7 separate regions of the Homo sapiens genome follow, and all the other regions are linked to region 1. The links are contacts of gene promoters, found by promoter capture Hi-C in blood cells and fetal thymus (Javierre and others, 2016). All regions are on one chromosome and are shown on one strand. The core of a region is centred on a gene start or on the middle of the fragment in contact, and the rest is flanking DNA. Distances in the headings are between cores, read along the strand shown. Region 1 holds the start of PRC1-AS1 (PRC1 antisense RNA 1). Region 2 overlaps FANCI (FA complementation group I). Region 3 overlaps CHASERR (CHD2 adjacent suppressive regulatory RNA). Region 4 overlaps CHD2 (chromodomain helicase DNA binding protein 2). Region 5 overlaps FANCI (FA complementation group I). Region 6 overlaps FANCI (FA complementation group I). Region 7 overlaps CHD2 (chromodomain helicase DNA binding protein 2).

What was found. The method cuts DNA at HindIII sites, captures the fragments that hold promoters and counts their contacts. A CHiCAGO score of 5 or more calls a contact.
Region 2: a contact is called between a fragment that was not itself captured here and the fragment with the promoter of PRC1-AS1 in region 1, in 1 of 17 cell types (erythroblasts). The highest score is 5.4, in erythroblasts.
Region 3: a fragment that was not itself captured here is called in contact with the fragment with the promoter of PRC1-AS1 in region 1 in 1 of 17 cell types (erythroblasts); the score reaches 5.0 in erythroblasts.
Region 4: a contact is called between a fragment that was not itself captured here and the fragment with the promoter of PRC1-AS1 in region 1, in 1 of 17 cell types (erythroblasts). The highest score is 5.1, in erythroblasts.
Region 5: a contact is called between a fragment that was not itself captured here and the fragment with the promoter of PRC1-AS1 in region 1, in 1 of 17 cell types (erythroblasts). The highest score is 8.4, in erythroblasts.
Region 6: a fragment that was not itself captured here is called in contact with the fragment with the promoter of PRC1-AS1 in region 1 in 1 of 17 cell types (erythroblasts); the score reaches 6.2 in erythroblasts.
Region 7: a contact is called between a fragment that was not itself captured here and the fragment with the promoter of PRC1-AS1 in region 1, in 1 of 17 cell types (erythroblasts). The highest score is 6.2, in erythroblasts.

What each region holds. Positions count from the first base shown.
Region 1 is chr15:90,964,976-90,967,675 of GRCh38, forward strand. It overlaps PRC1-AS1 (PRC1 antisense RNA 1), which reads left to right and starts at 1,394. Exons shown (of 4, transcript NR_051984.1): 1 at 1,394-1,703. It overlaps PRC1 (protein regulator of cytokinesis 1), which reads right to left. Exons shown (of 15, transcript NM_003981.4): 15 at 1,065-2,227. The coding sequence ends at 2,156. The HindIII fragment of the contact is 668 bases long and covers 1,182-1,849 here.
Region 2 is chr15:89,247,983-89,250,682 of GRCh38, forward strand. All of the region lies in intron 2 of FANCI (FA complementation group I), which reads left to right. Among named protein-coding and RNA genes, the nearest start is that of FANCI, 5.4 kb to the left of the region's middle. The HindIII fragment of the contact is 3,959 bases long and covers 1-2,700 here.
Region 3 is chr15:92,896,463-92,899,162 of GRCh38, forward strand. CHASERR (CHD2 adjacent suppressive regulatory RNA) reads left to right here. Exons shown (of 6, transcript NR_037601.1): 6 at 1,262-2,285. Among named protein-coding and RNA genes, the nearest start is that of CHD2, 2.5 kb to the right of the region's middle. The HindIII fragment of the contact is 1,161 bases long and covers 871-2,031 here.
Region 4 is chr15:92,929,508-92,932,207 of GRCh38, forward strand. All of the region lies in intron 5 of CHD2 (chromodomain helicase DNA binding protein 2), which reads left to right. Among named protein-coding and RNA genes, the nearest start is that of MIR3175, 26 kb to the left of the region's middle. The HindIII fragment of the contact is 4,783 bases long and covers 1-2,700 here.
Region 5 is chr15:89,274,801-89,277,500 of GRCh38, forward strand. It overlaps FANCI (FA complementation group I), which reads left to right. Exons shown (of 38, transcript NM_001113378.2): 13 at 1,911-2,091. Among named protein-coding and RNA genes, the nearest start is that of FANCI, 32 kb to the left of the region's middle. The HindIII fragment of the contact is 945 bases long and covers 948-1,892 here.
Region 6 is chr15:89,310,895-89,313,594 of GRCh38, forward strand. FANCI (FA complementation group I) reads left to right here. Exons shown (of 38, transcript NM_001113378.2): 35 at 2,010-2,078. Among named protein-coding and RNA genes, the nearest start is that of MIR6766, 15 kb to the right of the region's middle. The HindIII fragment of the contact is 9,693 bases long and covers 1-2,700 here.
Region 7 is chr15:92,946,403-92,949,102 of GRCh38, forward strand. It overlaps CHD2 (chromodomain helicase DNA binding protein 2), which reads left to right. Exons shown (of 39, transcript NM_001271.4): 13 at 2,550-2,674. Among named protein-coding and RNA genes, the nearest start is that of MIR3175, 43 kb to the left of the region's middle. The HindIII fragment of the contact is 565 bases long and covers 1,169-1,733 here.

The DNA of each region.
Region 1 (2,700 bases), core at 144-2,643:
TGTAGTAACAAATCGGTGGGCCAGGTACAGTGGCTCATGCCTGTAGTCCTAGCACTTTGGGAGGCCGAGGTGGGCGGATCATGAGGTCAGGAGATCGAGACCATCCTAGCTAATACAGTGAAACCCTGTCTGTCTGTACCAAAAATACAAAAATTTACCAGGCGTGATGGCACGTGCCTGCAGTCCCAGCTACGCGGGAGGCTGAGGCAGGAGAATCCCTTGAACCTGGGAGGCAGAGATTGCAGTGAGCTGAGATTGTGCCACTGCACTCCAGCCTGGCAAGAGCGAGACTCCATCTCAAAAAAAAAAAAAAAAAAAAAAAAAAAAATCAGTGGTTGCTCGGCAGGGTGAGGCTGGGAAGGAGGAGTGAGAAAGGGGTGGGAAGAACTGCTGGGGTAGAGAGACTTGGTTAACTGGACTGTGGCGATGGTTTTTCTCTTACGCTTCACATGTGTGCAGTTTATGTCCATCCTCCTTCAGTAACGCTGTTGAAGTTGGGCAGCCTCCCCATATTGAGACAAACGGCATTGAAGCCAGAAGCATCCTAGGACTCCCTTTGCTCTCTACACATCAGGGGTTAGGTTTTATATTTCTCACCAAAAAATTAGAGTAAGAGATATTCTTAATTTAGAAATGTACCAGAGAATATTTTAAAAATCACACTCGGCCGGGTGCTGTGGCTCATGCCTGTCATCCCAGCACTTTGGGAGGCAGGCAGATCATCTGAGGTCAGGAGTTCAAGACCAGCCTGGCCAACATGGTGAAAGCCTGTCTCTACTAAAAATACAAAAATTAGCCAGGTGTGATGGTGCGTGCCTGTAATCCCAGCAAATCGGGAGGCTGAGGCAGGAGAATCGCTTGAACCTGGGAGGTGGAAGTTGCACTGAACCAAGATAGTGCCACTGTACTCCAGCCTGGGCGACAGAGTGAGACTCAAAAAAAAAAATCACACTCCTGACTAAAAATTTCCAGGAGGTCCTTTTAGTTTTTTGTGTTTGTTTTTCACACACAGACCAACCAACTAAAAAGTGACTGGGGAAAAAAAGGAAACACCACACTATATCTTTTTGAAATGTAAGTATACAGATTTTAATTTATTTTTAAGAATAATTGTATATTTTAAAAACAGGACACGTACTGTATGAGTAAACAGCGTGGCTAACACCAAGTCCACACTGGTAAGCTTTTGAGAACCATTTACACTATGTTGACAGTAGTACTGCTGCAGGCAGACAGCGGAAGAATAAATAATAGTGCTTCAAGAAGAGTAGTGATTGAGAGGATAGGTAAAGAGGGCGCCTCATCGTGGAAGCTAGAGCAGGAACACCTCCCCAGTAGTGACATGTGCAAAGTTCCAGATCTCCACGACAAAGACAGCTCAACCCATTGGAACAAACAGACTCCCAATGTGGCTGGCAACTGCGGGGGTAGAAGAACTCAGGCAAAGTAGGCACAGGAATGGGGGAGATGAGAGCCAAGGGACAAACGCCGAGAAAGCGTTCCGACAAGCATGTGTGTTCATACATGCATACCCCCAACAAAGGGCAATGCACTGTGTAACAGAACTGAACACAATTTAACAAAGCTGCTCCCAGCCTTCCTGTCACCTCTTTGGCAGTAGGGCAGGCCATCTCAACTTCGGACACACAAAGACATTCTCTTCAGGAGGAAGGCTGTCCTGTGTGGTGGGGACAAGGCTTCAGGTAAGAGCAAAGCTATGATAGCTACAGCATTAATTGAACATGCCTAAACAAAAAAGATGTTAATTACTAGTTACAGGTATACATGCCAAAATTACCCCCAGGGATGGGCATAGTCAATCATTTTCCTACAGTGGTGAAATAAAACAAGCTTTGATCATGCTTCAGCAAGTAGAATTATGTGGTAGAGAAGTCAGGCCCCATATGCTAAAATTTGCACTTCTTGCCATAAACTTTTCATGTATATAAGTCAAAACCAAGTCTCCTAGGACCACTAAACCTATGATGGGCTTTCAACTGTAACACTCATTCACATCTTTAAGTTAGGCCCATGGTCATGGAACCTGGCCAAGGTTTCAAGCACGCCTAAGCTGAAGAAAAACTAAAGTCACCCCCATATAATTAGGTCCAGTCTAGGCACAGGAAGCCACAGCTGGTTGACTGATCAGGGCTTCTCAGGACTGGATGTTGGTTGAATTGAGGATTCCAGAAGTAGCATCAGATTTGGAAGCCTTTGAAAGTTCTCGCTGTTGAAAAATAAATAACATCAGTGGCCATACTGCCTCTCTTACACATGGCCCACCCTTCTAAGTTTGGTTAAGTGTCAGCAAAAGGTCCCTTGAAGGTAGTTTCTCTGAGATCCCTAGCCTGCAATAGGCTGCGTTAGGAGTAAAAGGTGAGGAACTCTGAGCACCATTCTATTAGTCACAGACAGAGTGCATGTGCACGCATGCCCGTGACCCCTTTTTCCTCAGCCAGTCCATTCTGTTACACCTCACAGAAGAGAAATCCTTCATACAGTCATGCACTGCATAATGATGTTTCAGTTAACGACAGGCCACATACACTATGGTGGTCCCATAAGATTATACCATATTTTTACTGTACCTTTTCTATGTTTAGATACACAAATACTTACCATTGCGTTACAATTGCCTACAGTATCCCAGGAATAGCCTGAATCAAAAAAACCCACAATTGCCTACAGTATTCTTTCTGT
Region 2 (2,700 bases), core at 59-2,558, 1.7 Mb before region 1:
ACTGTATTTATAAAAGCAATTAGTATACTTTTATGGTCCTCAGAACAATCCTATTTGATGATAATATCCAGACTATAGTTACTGATTGAGACATTAGTTTTGCATTTTGATGCTTCTCTGTATTTTTCCGTAAAGAAATTAAGTTTATAAGCGGCAAAATATTTTGAAATTATTAGTAAAAATTAGGGCCTCTGTTTTCACTATAAGTGTAGGATTATAAAATGGGATAGTAATTGCCTTATATGTTAGGCTGTTTCTTCTCCCTAATGTTCTTTCTCAGCTGATATACTGCTCCTTTTTCCATAAGTGATCTCATCCTATCCAGGTCCCTGCCTGGAAAAGAATCCCTCTTCAAGGTATATGTACAAACAAGTAAAGACATTGAGTATCATGGGATTTTTTTCCTTTTTCTGTCAATTGATGAGTATTATGTTTTTAAGGGAATTTCTTTGTGTTAATGTTGTAGTTATTGAAGGAAGGTGCATCTTAGTGTGTGTTATCTGACATACTAACTAGGAATTGATGCAGTGTTGCTCTTTGATTTTTTTTTCTTTGAAATTATCCAAGATTGCCTTTATAGCTATTTTTTGAGATGACTTGTTGCATGAGTTGTAACTTGAATCATTCTATAGACAAGATTTGATTGAAACTAGCATTTAAATTATTTATTTAAAGTTTCATGCCTCAAATTGAAGGCGTGAACACTGTCAAATTGAAGACAGTGTTCCAGATGTTTTCTGACTCTAGGATAGAGTAATGCTAATATTTCCCTCATTTTTCCATTAATGCAAAATCAGCTTTTTGGCAGCAACATTATATTGTAGTCTCATTGCTCTTATATTTATTTTTGTATATGTTGATAAGTTGCTAAGTTTCCTTTATCTCTGAAGTCCTTTTAGAATCCATGTTAAAAACTATATATAGGCCAGGCATGGTGACTTACACCTGTAGTCCCAGCACTTTGGGAGGATTCCTTTAGGCCAGGAGTTCGAGATCAGCTTAGGCAACATAGTGAGACCCAGTTTCTAAAAACAACTACCAAAACAACAAACTTTATATCTGTTAACTGTCACCTTTTTTAGATTCATCTTGTTTTACTCCATCAAGATCATTTTGTATGATTCTGCTGACCGTATTAATCAGCTTTTTATCCTCTACAAATTTGTTAAGCATGTCAGTAATATATGCAGGCAGTTCATTTGATAAAATGTCCCACAGAAGATGAACTCAGAGTAAAAAATTATAAAACACATAAAGAAGTCCTGTGGCAAGAAAGACTCAAACAGAAATGGGAAAATTCATATTCAAGGATTTAGAGCAATCTGAAAAAAATCTTTAATTATTTAACACAAATACTTAATACAGTATTTAACTTTATTTATTTAAAGGTGGGATCTCACCCTTGCACAGGCTGGAGTGCAGTGGGGCGATCTCGGCACACTGCAGCCTCAACCTCCTGGGCTCATGCGATCCTCCCACCTCAGCCTCCTGAGTAGCTGGGAGTACAAGCATGTGCCACCATGTCCGACTAATTTTTGTATTTTTAGCAGAGATGGGGTTTCGCCATGCTTTCCAGGCTGGTCTTGAACTCCTGAGCTCAAGCAATCCACCCACCTCAGCCTCCCACAGTGCCGGGATTACACGTGTGAGCCACTCTGCCTGACCTAGTATTTAAAATATTTGAAGATGTAAATGAAGGAATAGAACTCACAAAATAAGGGATGGATTTAGAAAACAATGAAAGACAACTTCTTGAAATGAAAACCTCAGTAGGTGGTTTAACAGTAGACAAAACATTGCTAAAGAGAAAATTAGTAAAGTGGAATACAGAGCTGAGGATAACTAAATAAAGCACAGATTGTAAAGAGGTGGAAAATATAAAGAATATTTAAAATATATGCAGAGAACTTTGATAAGAATATATTATCTTCTTAAACACATAGAATGTTCATAAAAATTAATCACATGTCATATACTAGAGCACAAAGAAAACATGGGTAGGTCCCATAAGGTAGAATTATTACAAACTATTCTCTGTGATCACAATGCAATAAAACTGGAAATGAAAACCGAAACTAAAAGTCAAAAAGCAAAGACACTTTTACTTGGAAATTAAAATACCTTCTATTCAACCATTGTGGAAGACAGTGTGGCGATTTCTCAGGGATCTAGAACTAGAAATACCATTTGACCCAGTGATCCCATTACTGGGTATATACCCAAAGGACTGTAAATCATGCTGCTATAAAGACACATTCACACGTATGTTTATTGCGGCACTATTCACAATAGCAAAGACTTGGAACCAACCCAAGTGTCCAACAATGATAGACTGGATTAAGAAAATGTGGCACATCTACACCATGGAATACTATGCAGCCATAAAAAATGATGAGTTCATGTCCTTTGTAGGGACATGGATGAAGCTGGAAGCCATCATTCTCAGCAAACTATCGCAAGGACAAAAAAACCAAACCCCACATGTTCTCACTCATAGGTGGGAATTGAACAGTGAGAACACTTGGACACGGGAATGGGAACATCACACACCGGGGCCTGTTGTGGAGTGAGGGGAGGGGGGAGGGATAGCATTAGGAGATACACCTAATGTAAATGACGAGTTAATGGGTGCAGCACACCAACATGGCACATGTACGCATATGTAACAAACCTGCATGTTGTGCACATGTACCCTAGAAC
Region 3 (2,700 bases), core at 201-2,700, 1.9 Mb after region 1:
TACATGTCCCTTAATTTTAAGGAATGAACAAGTCAGATGGAAGATTTTTACTGAGATCAGGAATGAATTGAGTAATTTAGTTTTCTTTTTAAAGCTGGGGAGAAATGAGCAAAATCAAGGAGAAATATCTTGCTTTTGATATTTATTACTGATGCTGTGACACTCCCTTTAATCAATGTTTTTTAATATGGGTGGCAGTATCTCAGTTAACCAAATAGTTAAGTAAGTAGATTTTTGTATTGTATATAGTAAACAGTATCCTAATTGTTGCCAAGGAGACAAGGAATTACCTAATGGGCAAAAATGCCCTTATATTTATTTACCTCAAATTCAGTCACACTTGACTGTATCTCCACAAATTCAGATGGAGAGCTGGAAAATTTATAGAGAAGACCAGGGTTTAAATCTTGTTTTTTCAAATTATGTTTGGTCATGATGAATCTGAATCATTTATTTAATGATAAAATCATCTGACTTCTCACTTCTCACTTCTCCCTTCAGTTAAAATTATTTAAGTAATGGATTTGTTTTTCTATGAGAGACATTTGGTATTTTGGTAATGAAAGTGTATTATTTTAGTTGCATATAATTTGAAAACAGCATTTTATGGCAAATCTATCAAGCCAGGCAGATACTTTGCATTTTTGATCTTTTTTTTTTTTTTTTTTTTTTGGTGGCTACATCTTTTCTGTATTCTCAGATATGTCGTTAAAGATGGTGCCACCTATAGTGGCCATTTTCGTTATCTAAACAAAACCAACATCTGTTGGATTGAAAAACTATGCTATGATCGACTGCTTTATGTGTGTATGTTTTTTTTTTTTTTCAAATCCCTTAAGATTCTTTTCTATAATTAGTTTTCTTTGAAGAAGCTTGGAAAGTTTTCTGCATTGAGATTTAGAATCCACAGTGTTTCTGTAATTTAGCTTTCCAGGAATTTTGAATTTTAATTTTTGTTTTTACTTTTTATGTACACAGTATAATGATGTTAGTGTTAAATATTAAAAATCTGACTCTTCACTGGGACTTTTTTATAGATACAAATGTATCTGTGGTAGTACAAGGACTTTGTTACTTTGGCGTGCAGTCTTATCAAGGAGTTGTGTGTGTGTTTTGCATACAACTTTACAATTTCATAGTTGAAAGCTGTTACAAAATGAAAGTTTTGTGTATGGTAGGATATCTTCAAGGTGGGTGGATGTTTTCTGTTTAAAAGATTAAGATGCCAACAGCGTTTTTTTCTTTTAATTTTTTCATCAAGCACCCAGTCAGCTTGAAGAGTTTCAAATGGACCCTACCACTGAGAAATCAAGATGGCAGTCTACTATGGGGAATTGAGGAAAAATGGATTAATACAAGAGTCCTGTGATAATATACAACCAAGACAGGGTTCTTTTAACATGGATTCCATGCAGTGAATGAAGACATAGGTTTCTTACCCAACACAAATGGACAGTGGATTTGACTTTCTAAAGACTTTTTTTGTGGACATTTTGACATTTGGAGAAGAAAGATGGCACACTAACCCAGATAATAGTTTTTATGCCTGGAATTTTTTGCAGTTTGATTTGTATGCGTATGACCTCTTGAAATGTTAATTTTTAATAAAATTTGTAACACTTAAAAATTTCTCAGTTTGGGTTTTTTTTTTTAAGTGGAAGTTTAATTAAATGTTTAGTTTTATTTTAGTAATACTTTGGCCTTTGTAGTTGCCGAGTGGTAAAGTGTACTGAATATGAATAAAGCTGGTAAATTGGAAATGGTGTAATCGAAAACATTTTACTTGGTTTATGAAGATTTACGTTTTTCACAAAGTTGTGCTCTTAGATGGTCATTTGGTTTAAATACTGTTTTGTTTGTGCTTTCATGAAACACCTTTCAAAACAACTCAATGGGTAATAATAGAATCTGATTTTAATCTGCCACAAGATTTTAATGAACTTGAAACAAACTGCTTGTTGCTCGAAAATTCAGGATGAGTGATACACATATACTTCTGAATTATTTTGTGTTGATTGAAATGGTTTCTTAAGCTTTTTAATACTATAAATACATCTTGCTATAGAATATTCATCTGAATATTTAAATTAATGTCTCCTATTGTCTTACTATTAGAGGAAGAAGTGTTGGATTTATGGGTTAGGGTCCTTGGAGTATTCACAATTTTTTAAATTTGAAATTATGTGTGTAATCCATTTTATATAACTTTGAAGTAGGATTAATATCTTGTATCGTCTTTATTTTGTACAATTGGGGATTTAGAATAAATGAATTGCACCCTGCCATAGATTACTTACGTTTGATTTTTAAATGCCAGGTTTTCATTTATTACTAATCAACTGATACCAGTTTTGGTAACTATTACAAAGGTGGTAGGCATTATTTTGGTAGACAAAATGAGTTCTTGATTCTGTTTTCCCATTTTACATGAGAAGAATAAATAGTTCAGGTTAAATTGTTTTGTGTTAATCATACTGTTTGTGATTCATGTCAAATACTGCAGCATACACATCCATGGTTAATACACGAGCACCATTTGTTATTGACTGATGTGAGGTGGTTGGTCTTTGTTAAATTCAAAAATGGAATTTTGGATATTGTTCTTGCTACGAAATTTATCTTTGTGTGTAGAGTATGGAATTGAAACAGTTTGGATTATGGATTTTACCTAGATTGGACATTGTTGATTTTGTTTGGTGT
Region 4 (2,700 bases), core at 72-2,571, 2.0 Mb after region 1:
TACATATTGTTGTTTCTGTATAATTTTAATGTTGCAGTTCATAAGCCAGAAAAATTTAATTTGTGGACTTAATGTGGAGTTTCTTTATAACATAGATTTATATGTTGATTTTTTAATTTAAAAAGTTCGATTTATATGATATGAAATTATTTGATTTTTTTTGAGAAATAATTTTTAAAGTCATTTTTTGGAGAGGGTGTGGATCCCGTTGACAATCTGAATTCTATAGCTTCTCTCAAAAATGTAGATATTCAAAACTTTGTATACCAGTTCAGGGGTTCTCATGTTAAACAGTTGTCCATGGCTTCTATTAAGAGCTCTAGGTACATATGCTCTGTTGTAAAATATTATTACTCTTTAGTAAGTGGCCTAAGGCAAGTCATTTGAGATTTTAAAACCCATTTCCTCATCTCCAAAAAAAAAAATAATACCATCTACCCAACAGGATTATTAGAAACTATGCTAAGATTTTGTGACATTAAATAAATGTAGGGTATTACAGAGCCTTACAGAAAAGTACTTAATTTTGCCCTGCTAGAGCGCATTCAGTTTTCATTTGTGTTTTGGAGAAATAGTAACTGTAAGCAAACCTGCACTTGGCATCTTAGAAGGCTTTTGTTCTGCCCCAGTCTCCTGGTCTGCTTGGGAGACTATTATCTGCTTACTGGTCTAATGGCCTTTTGAGTATCTTTCCTGAAATGTCCACCTTGATTACACCCTGGGAAATCCATGCATGTAATCATTACTTCACCATCTGGCTACATTCCTTTGGTCTCTTGACTGCAAGTTAAATGGTGCTATGCTTGAATTCTTGACTTCCTATTTTAATGGCCTTATTTGTGTGTGCAGAAGCCAGCGTTTTTTTCAGTCACTGTATAATACATTGCGCTTACTCTGGTTACTGGCTCATAGTCTTGTCAGCCTTTTTGTTTTGTTTTGTTTTGAGACAGGGTCTCACTCTGTTGCTCAGGCTGGAGTGCAGTGGCTTGATCTCAGCTCACTGCAGCCTTGGCTTGCTGGACTTAATTGACCCACCTAAGCCACTCGAGTAGCTGGGACTACAGGCATGTGCTATCATGCCCAGCTAAGTTTTTAAAAATTTATTGTATAGATGGGGTCTCACTATGTTTCTCAGGCTGGTTTCAACCTCCTGAGCTCAAGCAGTCCTCCAGCCTCGGTCTCCTAGGATTACAGGTGTGAGCCACTGTGCCCCGCCACTTATCAGTCTTAAGAATTCCCCAAAGTTGGCAACCTTCAGTAGCATATATGGACCTTTCTTTTCCTGAGTAGAACCTCTTAGTTCCTTGCAGAGTGGGATCTGTCTTCTTTTTCATATTGCTTCCCTACCCTAGGGCTGTTCATAGGAACTGCCTTGGGCTGAGATAGTTCCCCTCATGTTCCTGTGTTTGGGCACTGGGCTAGCCTTCGTTTCTGCTATTCTCTGGCCAGCTGGTGAGTATTGTGGATTTACAGAGAGCTCTTCTCCTGAGTCACCAGTTGAGATTCCTGAAAGATTAATTAGGGGAGGTCTTGTAGCTGCTGACACTCAAGTTGCAAGGCACTTTAGGAGCCTTCTGTGATCCAAGCTGAGCAAGTGTAACATAACCTAATGTGTGGTCACATGCATTTCAGAATTCAGACTCACTCAGAGAGTGAAAGGTTTGAAATATTGGCACAAAGAAATGCTTTTCTGAAACCCTGCAGATTTTATTCACACATTTTAGAGTTTTTAAAAAGGGACCATTTTGTAAAATTGGTTTAAAAAAATTAATTCCAAACTTTAGGAAAGTTGCAAGAATAAAAGTGCAGTACAAAGGACACCTTATATACTTTACCCAGATTACCATTTTTCCTCCATTTGCTTTATTATTATGGGTGCTGTTTATTTAAGAGAGAGGGTCTTGCTCTGTCACCTAGGCTAGAGTGCAGTGGTGCAACCTTGGCTCTCTGCAGCCTCAATCTCCTGAGCTCAAGTGATCCTCCTACCTCAGCCTCCCAAGTAGCTGGGACGACAGGCGTGCACCACCATGCCTGATTTTGTATTTTTGTAGACATAGAGGTCTCACTACGTTGCCCTGGCTGTTCTCAAACTCCTGGCCTCAAGTTATCCTCTCACCTTGCTCTCCAAAAGTGTTGGGATTAGCATACGTGAGCCACTGCACCCAGCCTGTGTATATTTATATATATACAAACATAATGTTTTTTATGAACTATTTGAGACTAAAATTCATAAAATTTTACCTTTTATCCCTTTACCTTAAATATGTAAGGTGTATTTCTTAAAAATAAGGATTTTCTCTTTTATAAGCACAGTACAGTACAGATTCAACTTAGATTTAAAACATTGCTGACGTACTTTTTTTTTTTTTTTTTTGAGACGCAGTCTGGCTTTGTCGCCAGGCTGGGGTACAGTGGCGCAATCTCGGCTCACTGCAGCCTCCGCCTCCGGGGTTCAAGCAATTCTCCTGCCTTAGCCTCCCGAGTAGCTGGGACTACAGGCGTGCGCCACCACGTCCAGCTAATTTTTTCTATTTTTAATAGAGACGGGGTTTCACCATGTTGGCCAGGATGGTCTCAGTCTCTTGACCTCGTTATCAGCCTGTCTTGGCCTCCCAGAGTGCTGGGATTGCAGGCTTGAGCCACCGCACCTGGCTGCTGATGTACTTTTGTCTGATTCATATTTCAGTTTTGTCAATTAAC
Region 5 (2,700 bases), core at 170-2,669, 1.7 Mb before region 1:
CGCCATATTGCCCAGGCTGGTCTTGAACTTCTGAGCTCAAGCAATCCACCTGCCTTGGCCTCCCAAAGTGCTGGGATTACAGGCTTGAGCCACCGGTCCTGGCCGTTTCTTTTCCTTTTTAAAGGAAACAGTCTCACTATGTTGCCCAGGCTGGAGTGCAATGGCTATTCACAGGCTCTATTATAGCACGGTAAAGCCTCAAACTCCTGGCCTCAAGTGATGCTCCCACCTCAGTAGCTGGGACTATAGGCATGTAGCCCTGTGCCTGGCTTGGCCTTTCTTCTTTTTTTTTTTTTTTTTTTTCTGAAGACGTAGGAACTTTTCACTATGTTGCCCAGGCTAGACTTGATCTTCTGGGCTCAACTGATCCTCCTGCCTCAGCCTCTCAAGTAGCTGGGACAATAATAGGTGCATGCCACTGCATCTGACTCATGGCCTCTTTTTAAAGTGAGTAAAAAACATTAAGAGTTTTATTTACTTTGTTGAAATTTGGAGCGTACAGTTGGAATTCAATTATTGATTAGCCAGTTTAGAGAAATTCATTTAAAACCACATGGAAAACATCAGTAACTGTCCTGGTTTTTATTTTAATTTCAGGATATACATTAGCTGTTGTAACAGTCTTTACTATGTCATGCTTTCACTGTGTATTAAATATATTTTAAAGTTTCATAATTTAAGCATAATTTATGGTAGGCCTCTTCTAGGCCTGGAATTCTTGTTTATTAATAGATTGAATTTACATGAGCTTTGCAGTAGGGCAAATTTGAAATTAGAGTTTATTGTTTGAGTGTTTTACCCATTGTTAGGCCTTAAAGCTTTTTAATCTTTGTATCTCATTATTCTTTTTCCTGAGGTTTATACTTGTGTCTCCAGTATTTTCCCAACCCAATCTCTTAAAGTTGGGCTAAAGAAGGAGGTACTCACTAACCAGGAAATTCCTGGAAAGCTTCCCATCTTCTGGAAATCTCAACTGTCATAGGACTTGAAAGCATCTCCATGTATAATTAGCCTGGAGTGGGTACTTGCCACTGGGTGGGACCAAACCTCAGCTGGGAGAGATTTGGATAGCCTTATTAGATCCTCTAAAATAACTGGCTGGTTAGTTACACATGCTTGCCCCAGTCAGTTAATGAACCTTTAAATAATGCATTCTCCATTTTATGTAATTGAATTTTTGGCTCTTCAGAGTATGAATATTGTTAACTCTGTTAAAGTCTTATAATTTATCCATAACTGTCTACTTCATTCTGTAGTGCTGCATTATAATTTGTTGCAATTTAACAGGTAGATATAATGGATAAAGGTTATATTCACATTATTTCCACTGTGGGGTATAACATTAAGTGGTATAAAACCACCAATGATTCTACTCTTTTACAAAAGATTATTTGTAGTTTTAGCTTATGCTGTTGATACCAGATCACTCATCCATTTATAGTATAAATATCTACTGAGTGTCTTTTATATGCCACCCTTGTGCTAAGCAATGTGGGTAAAAATATGACTATACTATGACCTCTCTCCTAGAGAATCTCTGTCTTTGGAGGGGAGCTAATTTGTAAGCCTCTACATAAGCGTTGTCAGTGCTGTAGGGTAATAGAAGAGGCAGCAATGAACTTCTCATCATGAAATCTTGAATAGGAATCTTTAATTTTTTTAATACTCTCTAGCTTCTGGATTTTCCCAGTATTCTGTGTGTCATTGGAGACCACTTGCCTGCTGTTCCCATTATGGTACATTTAGGAATTCAGAATTCTGTCAGACGATGTGTGTAAAGAAAAGGTTTATATGCAGAGTACGTTGATTATCTAGGTCAAGTTTGGGAAATGTATAACAGGGCAATGAGTATAAAGGTAAGAATATCTCACTAAGTTTTTCTTTTTTAACTAAGCTTTGTGTTCTTGTAGCGTTCATAGCTGGGACCATGTTACTCAGGGCCTCGTAGAACTTGGTTTCATTTTGATGGATTCATATGGGCCAAAGAAGGTTCTTGATGGAAAAACTATTGAAACCAGCCCAAGTCTTTCTAGAATGCCAAACCAGCATGCATGTAAGCTCGGAGCTAATATCCTGTTGGAAACTTTTAAGGTGAGACACTATTTTGGCAACCACTCCCTAATTTTGTTTAAATAATCCAAGTAGGGCTTGGCATTTGCCTGGGAGTTTGGTGGACAAGGAAATTTGAGTATGTATTAGTTTGACAGAGGATATATGACAGAGATTAGGATAATATTGAAACATTATAGATCCAGTTTGATGGAATACTTACTTACGTATTCTTCTATGTAAGTTTTTCATTTATTCCACTTAATCCAATTGTTTCTGACCTAGAAGTTTGAATATAAGACAGCTTTTTCATGATTTTTCCTTCTTCTTCCAGAAGTAAACCATTTCTAGTTTTTGTTTTGTTTTGTTTTAATGCTGTTCCTTTACACAGAAGAAATTTTTTTAGGTCACTGTAGAGCATCAAGCTTAAAGAATCATGCTTAAGAATTTTTACTGAAAATAAAACAAAAAAAGAATCATGCTTGGTCGGGCATGGTGGCTCAAGCCTATAATCCCAACACTTTGGGAGGCTGAGGTGGGCAGATCACTTGAGCTCAGGAGTTTGAGACCAGCCTGGGCAACGTGGCGAAACCTCATCTCTACAAAAAACACAAAAATTAGCCAGGTGTGGTGGCACGCACCTGCAGTCCC
Region 6 (2,700 bases), core at 39-2,538, 1.7 Mb before region 1:
TGGGAGAATCACAAGGTCTGGAGTTTGAGACCAGCCTGGCCAACATGGTGAAATCCCGTCTCAACTAAAGATACAAAAAATAGCAGGGCACGGTGGCTCACACCTGTAATCTCAGCATTTTGGGAGGCTGAGGCAGGCGGATCACAAGGTCAGGAGTTCGAAACTAGCCCGGCCAACATGGTGAAACCCCATTTCTACTAAAAAAAATACAAAAATTAGCTGGGCATGGTGGCAGGCGCCTGTAATCCCAGCTACTCGGGAGGCTGAGGCAGGAGAATTGCTTGAACCCGGGAGGTGGAGGTTGCAGTGAGATGAGATCACACCACTGCACTCCAGCCTGGGCAACAGAGCATGACTCTGTCTCAAAAAAAAAAATTAGCCGGGCATGGTAGTGCGTGCCTGTAATCCCAGCTACTCGGGAAGCTGAGGCAGGAGAATCGCTTGAACCTGGGAGGCAGAGGTTGCAGTGAGCTGAGATCGCACCATTGTACTCCAGCCTGGGCGACAGAGTGAAACTCCACCTCAAAAAAAGATGCTTCTCTTCTGGCTCTAATTTTAGTCCTGCCCGCCCGGATCAGTTGGAATGGGCAGGGAACAGGGTTGATCTAAGGAGTTCCAACAGGGCCCCATCTTGGACACAACCTCTGGGAAGATGGTTCACTTCCCACTTGGTCAGTGAGGTCGATCCGTGACTGCTTCCTTGCCCTCTTCTGCTGCCTTCACCCTCTTCCATGCTCTACCCTGCCTTCCAGGGCCAAAAACAGATTACTGCATACCAGCCCCTCTGGAATGTCTGCAGTTCCTTATTTTCCAGAACGTGGCATGTGGAACAAGTCTCCTGTTTCTCTCATGGCTCCAGTTGCAGAGCCTCTCTGTATTTTCAGGTCTGTTTCTTTATTCTGTTGCCCTCGTGGAGCATGGTATGTTCCCTTCCTAAGAAGGTTTAGAACTCCCCTTGAGGTAAAAAGCTGCCTACATTTCTGTACCGTACCTTACATTTGGGTGGTTTTTCTCCCCAGTCTCTCCTGACTCAAGTCTTGATTTTCTTTTGCTTTATCAGAATCTTACACTTTTTGGTTCCTTTTATTAGTTATTCATCCCTCTCCAGGAGCTCTTTATTACCCAATAATTTACAACACAGGGAAGTGTTCTGTGACCCTTTTAACCCTTCTTGAGCATGATAACCCATTGCACATAAAATATATCTGGTTTTGGCTTTGCTGAGTAACGAAAATAAAATATATCTGGTGATTGCCTGTAAGTGGGAAGACTGCAGGGCCCTGCAGCAGCCTCCTCAGCTTCCTCTCCTTTATGGGATCCTTCTAGCCCACTGGCTAAAATAGAAATAGAAATGAATATTCCTGCTACCACCTTGACAGTCCCCATTTTAACCATTCTTTAGTACCTCACCAGCCCCTTGGCTGACCCACTGCAGTAATAGTCCTGCCTTCAACTTCCATGTGCCAGCTCTAAGAACAACAGATTGTAAACCTCTCAACAACTAAAAAAGAAAAAATATCTGAGGATTACAAAGCATCCATTTTTTCCCTATCTTCTAACATCTGTTGCACAGATAGTCCTGTTTACTCCAGACTTGGTCCTCATACCCTGTGTAATTACCTTCTAAGAAAATTGCCACTAGTTGGTGGGCATGGTGGCTTAGGCCTGTAATCCCAGCACTTTGGGAGGCTGAGGCCGGCAGATCACCTGAGGCCAGGAGTTCGAGACCAGCCTGGCCAACATGGCAAAACACCGTCTCTACTAAAAATACAAAAATTAGCTGAGTGTGGTGGCACGTGCCTGTAGTCCCAGCTACTCGGGAGGCTGAGGCACAAGAATCACTTAACTCGGGGCGCAGAGGTTACAGTGGGTCGACATCACGCCACTGCACACCAGCCTGGGTGACAGCAAAGCTCTGTCTTAAAAAAAAAAAAAAAAAAATTAGCACTAGCATGCTAGCTCCACAGAAAAATCATCAGGAATAAGAGAATGTGTTTCTATTTCTTTAGAATAAGAGTAAGAGCCTGAACTATACGGGAGAGAAAAAGGAGAAACCTGCTGCCGTTGCCACAGCCATGGTAAGCTGCTGACACTGACCGTTAAAATATGCTTGTTGGTGAACCCGAAAACATGAAGCGGAAGAAGCCAGTGACAAAAAGACCACGTGTTGTATGATTCCATTTTCATGAAGTGCCCAGAATAAATCATCTAAAAAGGCAAACTAGATTAGTGGTAGCGTAGAGCTAGGTGGGTTGGAAGATGGGGAGACTGGGGTGACAGCTAAAAACGGTATGGAATTTCTTTTGGGGGTGATGAAAATGTTTTAGAATTGACTGTGATGATGGTTGCACAACTCTGCAAATACTGAAAAAAAAGTACATTGTGAGTGAATTGTATGGTATATGAATTACAGCTCTATCAAGCTGTTAGAAAAAATTGTGTGTATTATATACATGGCTGCTTCTCAACTCAGGGATTTTATGATCAGATGGAGCATCTTATTTTTCCTCTGAACCAAAAACATGTTTTATTCACGAAGCACCAGAAAATCTTGAGTTGAAATGGAAATAGTAAAATAACTTACGATACTCAATTGGGAGAAATTATTTTTAGGTAAAGTTGGTGAATGCAAAAGGTGCTCCCTAAAAGATGTGTAAGAGTCAGCGGGGGTACAGGAAAGGAGGCACTTAGTACATTGCT
Region 7 (2,700 bases), core at 201-2,700, 2.0 Mb after region 1:
TGTTTAATCTTGCAATTTACATAATTAGAAATAGAGATATTTGAGAGAATACTTGAAAGGATTTAGGCACTTTTATTTTATTTTATTTTATTATTTTATTTTGAGACAGAGTTTCGCTGTGTCGCCCAGGCTGGAGTGCACTGGCACTATCTTGGCTAACTGCAACCTCTGCCTCCTGGGTTTAAGTGATTCTCCTGCCTCAGCCTCCTGAGCAGCTGGGATTACAGGCACGCACCACCACTTCCAGCTAATTTTTTGTATTTTTAGCAGAGATGGGGTTTCACCATGTTGGTCAGGCTGGTCTCAAACTCCTGACCTCAAATGATCCACCCACCTTGGCCTCCCAAAGTGCTGGGATTACAGGCGTGAGCCACCATGCCCAGTTGCATTTAGGCACTTTAAAAGAGAAGTGAAGCCAGTTGCAGTGGCTCACACCTGTGGTTCCAGCTACTTGGGAGGCTGAGGCGGCAGGATTGCTTGAGCACAGGAGTTTGAGGCCAACCTGGGGAAGATTGTGATACCCGTTCTCTAAAAAAAAAAAAAAATAGAGAGCGGGAAGTGATAGAAAAGGCGAGTGTCTTTGAATTCTAAGTTAGAAATTAAATATATAGGCTTATTTGCTAGATTGGCTGAATAAATCCTTTCCTTGGAATTTATTCCATCAGGAAACTGATGTGCTTGGGTCCTCAGTAATGAAATATCAGACAAGTGATACGTCTCTGAGAAGTTGACATTCATGTTAATGGCACTAGAATTCTATCTGTGAAAACCAGTATTTAATTGCCAAAGAGTGTGATAGGGAAAATGTGGTCAGAGAAGCACCAATGTAGAAGTCTCTGAGCTCCAGTGGTCATTGAATGGGTTTTAAGAGGAAGTTGTGGTTGTTGAACTGCATCTGGCCCTTGTATAATGGATTGGTGCTGCTGGCTATACAGACAAGAGGGGGCCCAGGGTATTGCCCTCCTGTGAAAGGTATCAAGAGAAAGATTCTTATAGTTCAATAGGAGAACTACTAGACCCCAGGGGTGAGGAGAAGAGGAATGATGTTGACAAGTACATCAAGGTCAAAGTGTGTGTGTCTTGGCTACCTCGAAGGGTATTTTGACTTTATCTCCTAGGTATTCGTACAGCTGAGTACAGTGGCATTATGAAATAGTTTTATTTAGAAAGCTTCATGTAATAGCAGTATATAGGAGACTCTGGAGTAAGTAATTATTAAAGCCAGAAGGTCCAGCCAGTAAGATGTCATTGAAGTCCACGAATGAAGAAGTAGTGTGAGGACAAGGGAAGTAACAGTGGCGTGGAAGGAGTGGATGGGAGAACAGTTATGGGGTAGGTTTGGTAGGAGTGGATGGATGGCTGGGTTTTGGAGTTGAGAGTAAGCAGTCGGATTCCATTCACTGCCAGCCGCCCTCATAGAGAACTGAACACATCAATAACCTTATCAAATATTCTTATTAGAATGATACTTCTCATAATGTGTGCTATAGAGCACTAATCTTCAGAGAAAAGTCCCCTGAAAAAAGACTTTTTGGCCATGTAACTTTGAGATACATCCCTGAATGAATTTCTCCTGTAAATTCACGCTATGGACACACATTTCAGACTTTGAAAAGTCATGAGTAAAGAAATTGTATAACTTTTTGATCGGTTGTTTCCTAAACTGATTTGGCCACAGAATCCACATTTTATGCAAACCATAGAGACTGACCTCACTAGAATGCTATCCTTTAAGCTTCTGGGGGTGAAAACAACCTTCCCTTCAGAAGCTTGTTTCTGAAGGGAAAACCAAATTCACGCAATTAAAGGGTTTAAGGTAGATGGGCGGCATTTCTGAATTTACAAATCCTGTTATGGTGAAGATCAACTGTATTTAGCATATGACAGCTGGAGGCAATGTTTTGTACTCTTTAGAATCAGATAACAGAAAGATAGTTGTTTCTGAAAAATAGGAGACTCTGACTGCCATATAATAGACAAGACCTAAAGTGCTATTTAATGATGTTCATAGATTTATTTCAGGAAAGGGGCAAGTTAACTAAAAATATTTTATTTGAGGATGAACTAACTCTGGCTTATGGAATATTAACCATGAAGAAAGGGGTGATGGAGTGAGGTGGTGATTCACACACATGAAATTTAAGTTTTTGGCCAGGCGCGGTGGCTCACGCCTGTAATCCCAGCACTCTGGGAGGCCGAGGTGGGCAGATCACGAGGTCAGGAGATCGAGACCATCCTGGCTAGCATGGTGAAACCCCATCTCTACTAAAAATACAAAAATAGCCAGGCGTGGGTGGTGGCGGGCGCCTGTATGTAGTCCCAGCTACTTGGGAGGCTGAGGCAGGAGAATGGCGTGAACCCGGGAGGCAGAGCTTGCAGTGAGCCGAGATTGGGCCACTGCACTCCAGCCTGGGTGACAGAGCAAGACTCCGTCTCAAAAAAAGAAATTTGAGTTTTTATGCTTTGATGCCGAATATGTGAATTGTGGCTAGCGTTTTAACATAGTAGCAGTAAGAACATTTTCTCAGACTTGGGCTTTTGTTTTTCAGGCCCTGAAGCAGAGACCACGATTTGTAGCTTTAAAGAAACAACCTGCATATTTAGGAGGGGAGAATCTGGAACTTCGAGATTATCAGCTAGAAGGTCTAAACTGGCTAGCTCATTCCTGGTGCAAGTAGGTAGAAAAATATGAGTGCAATT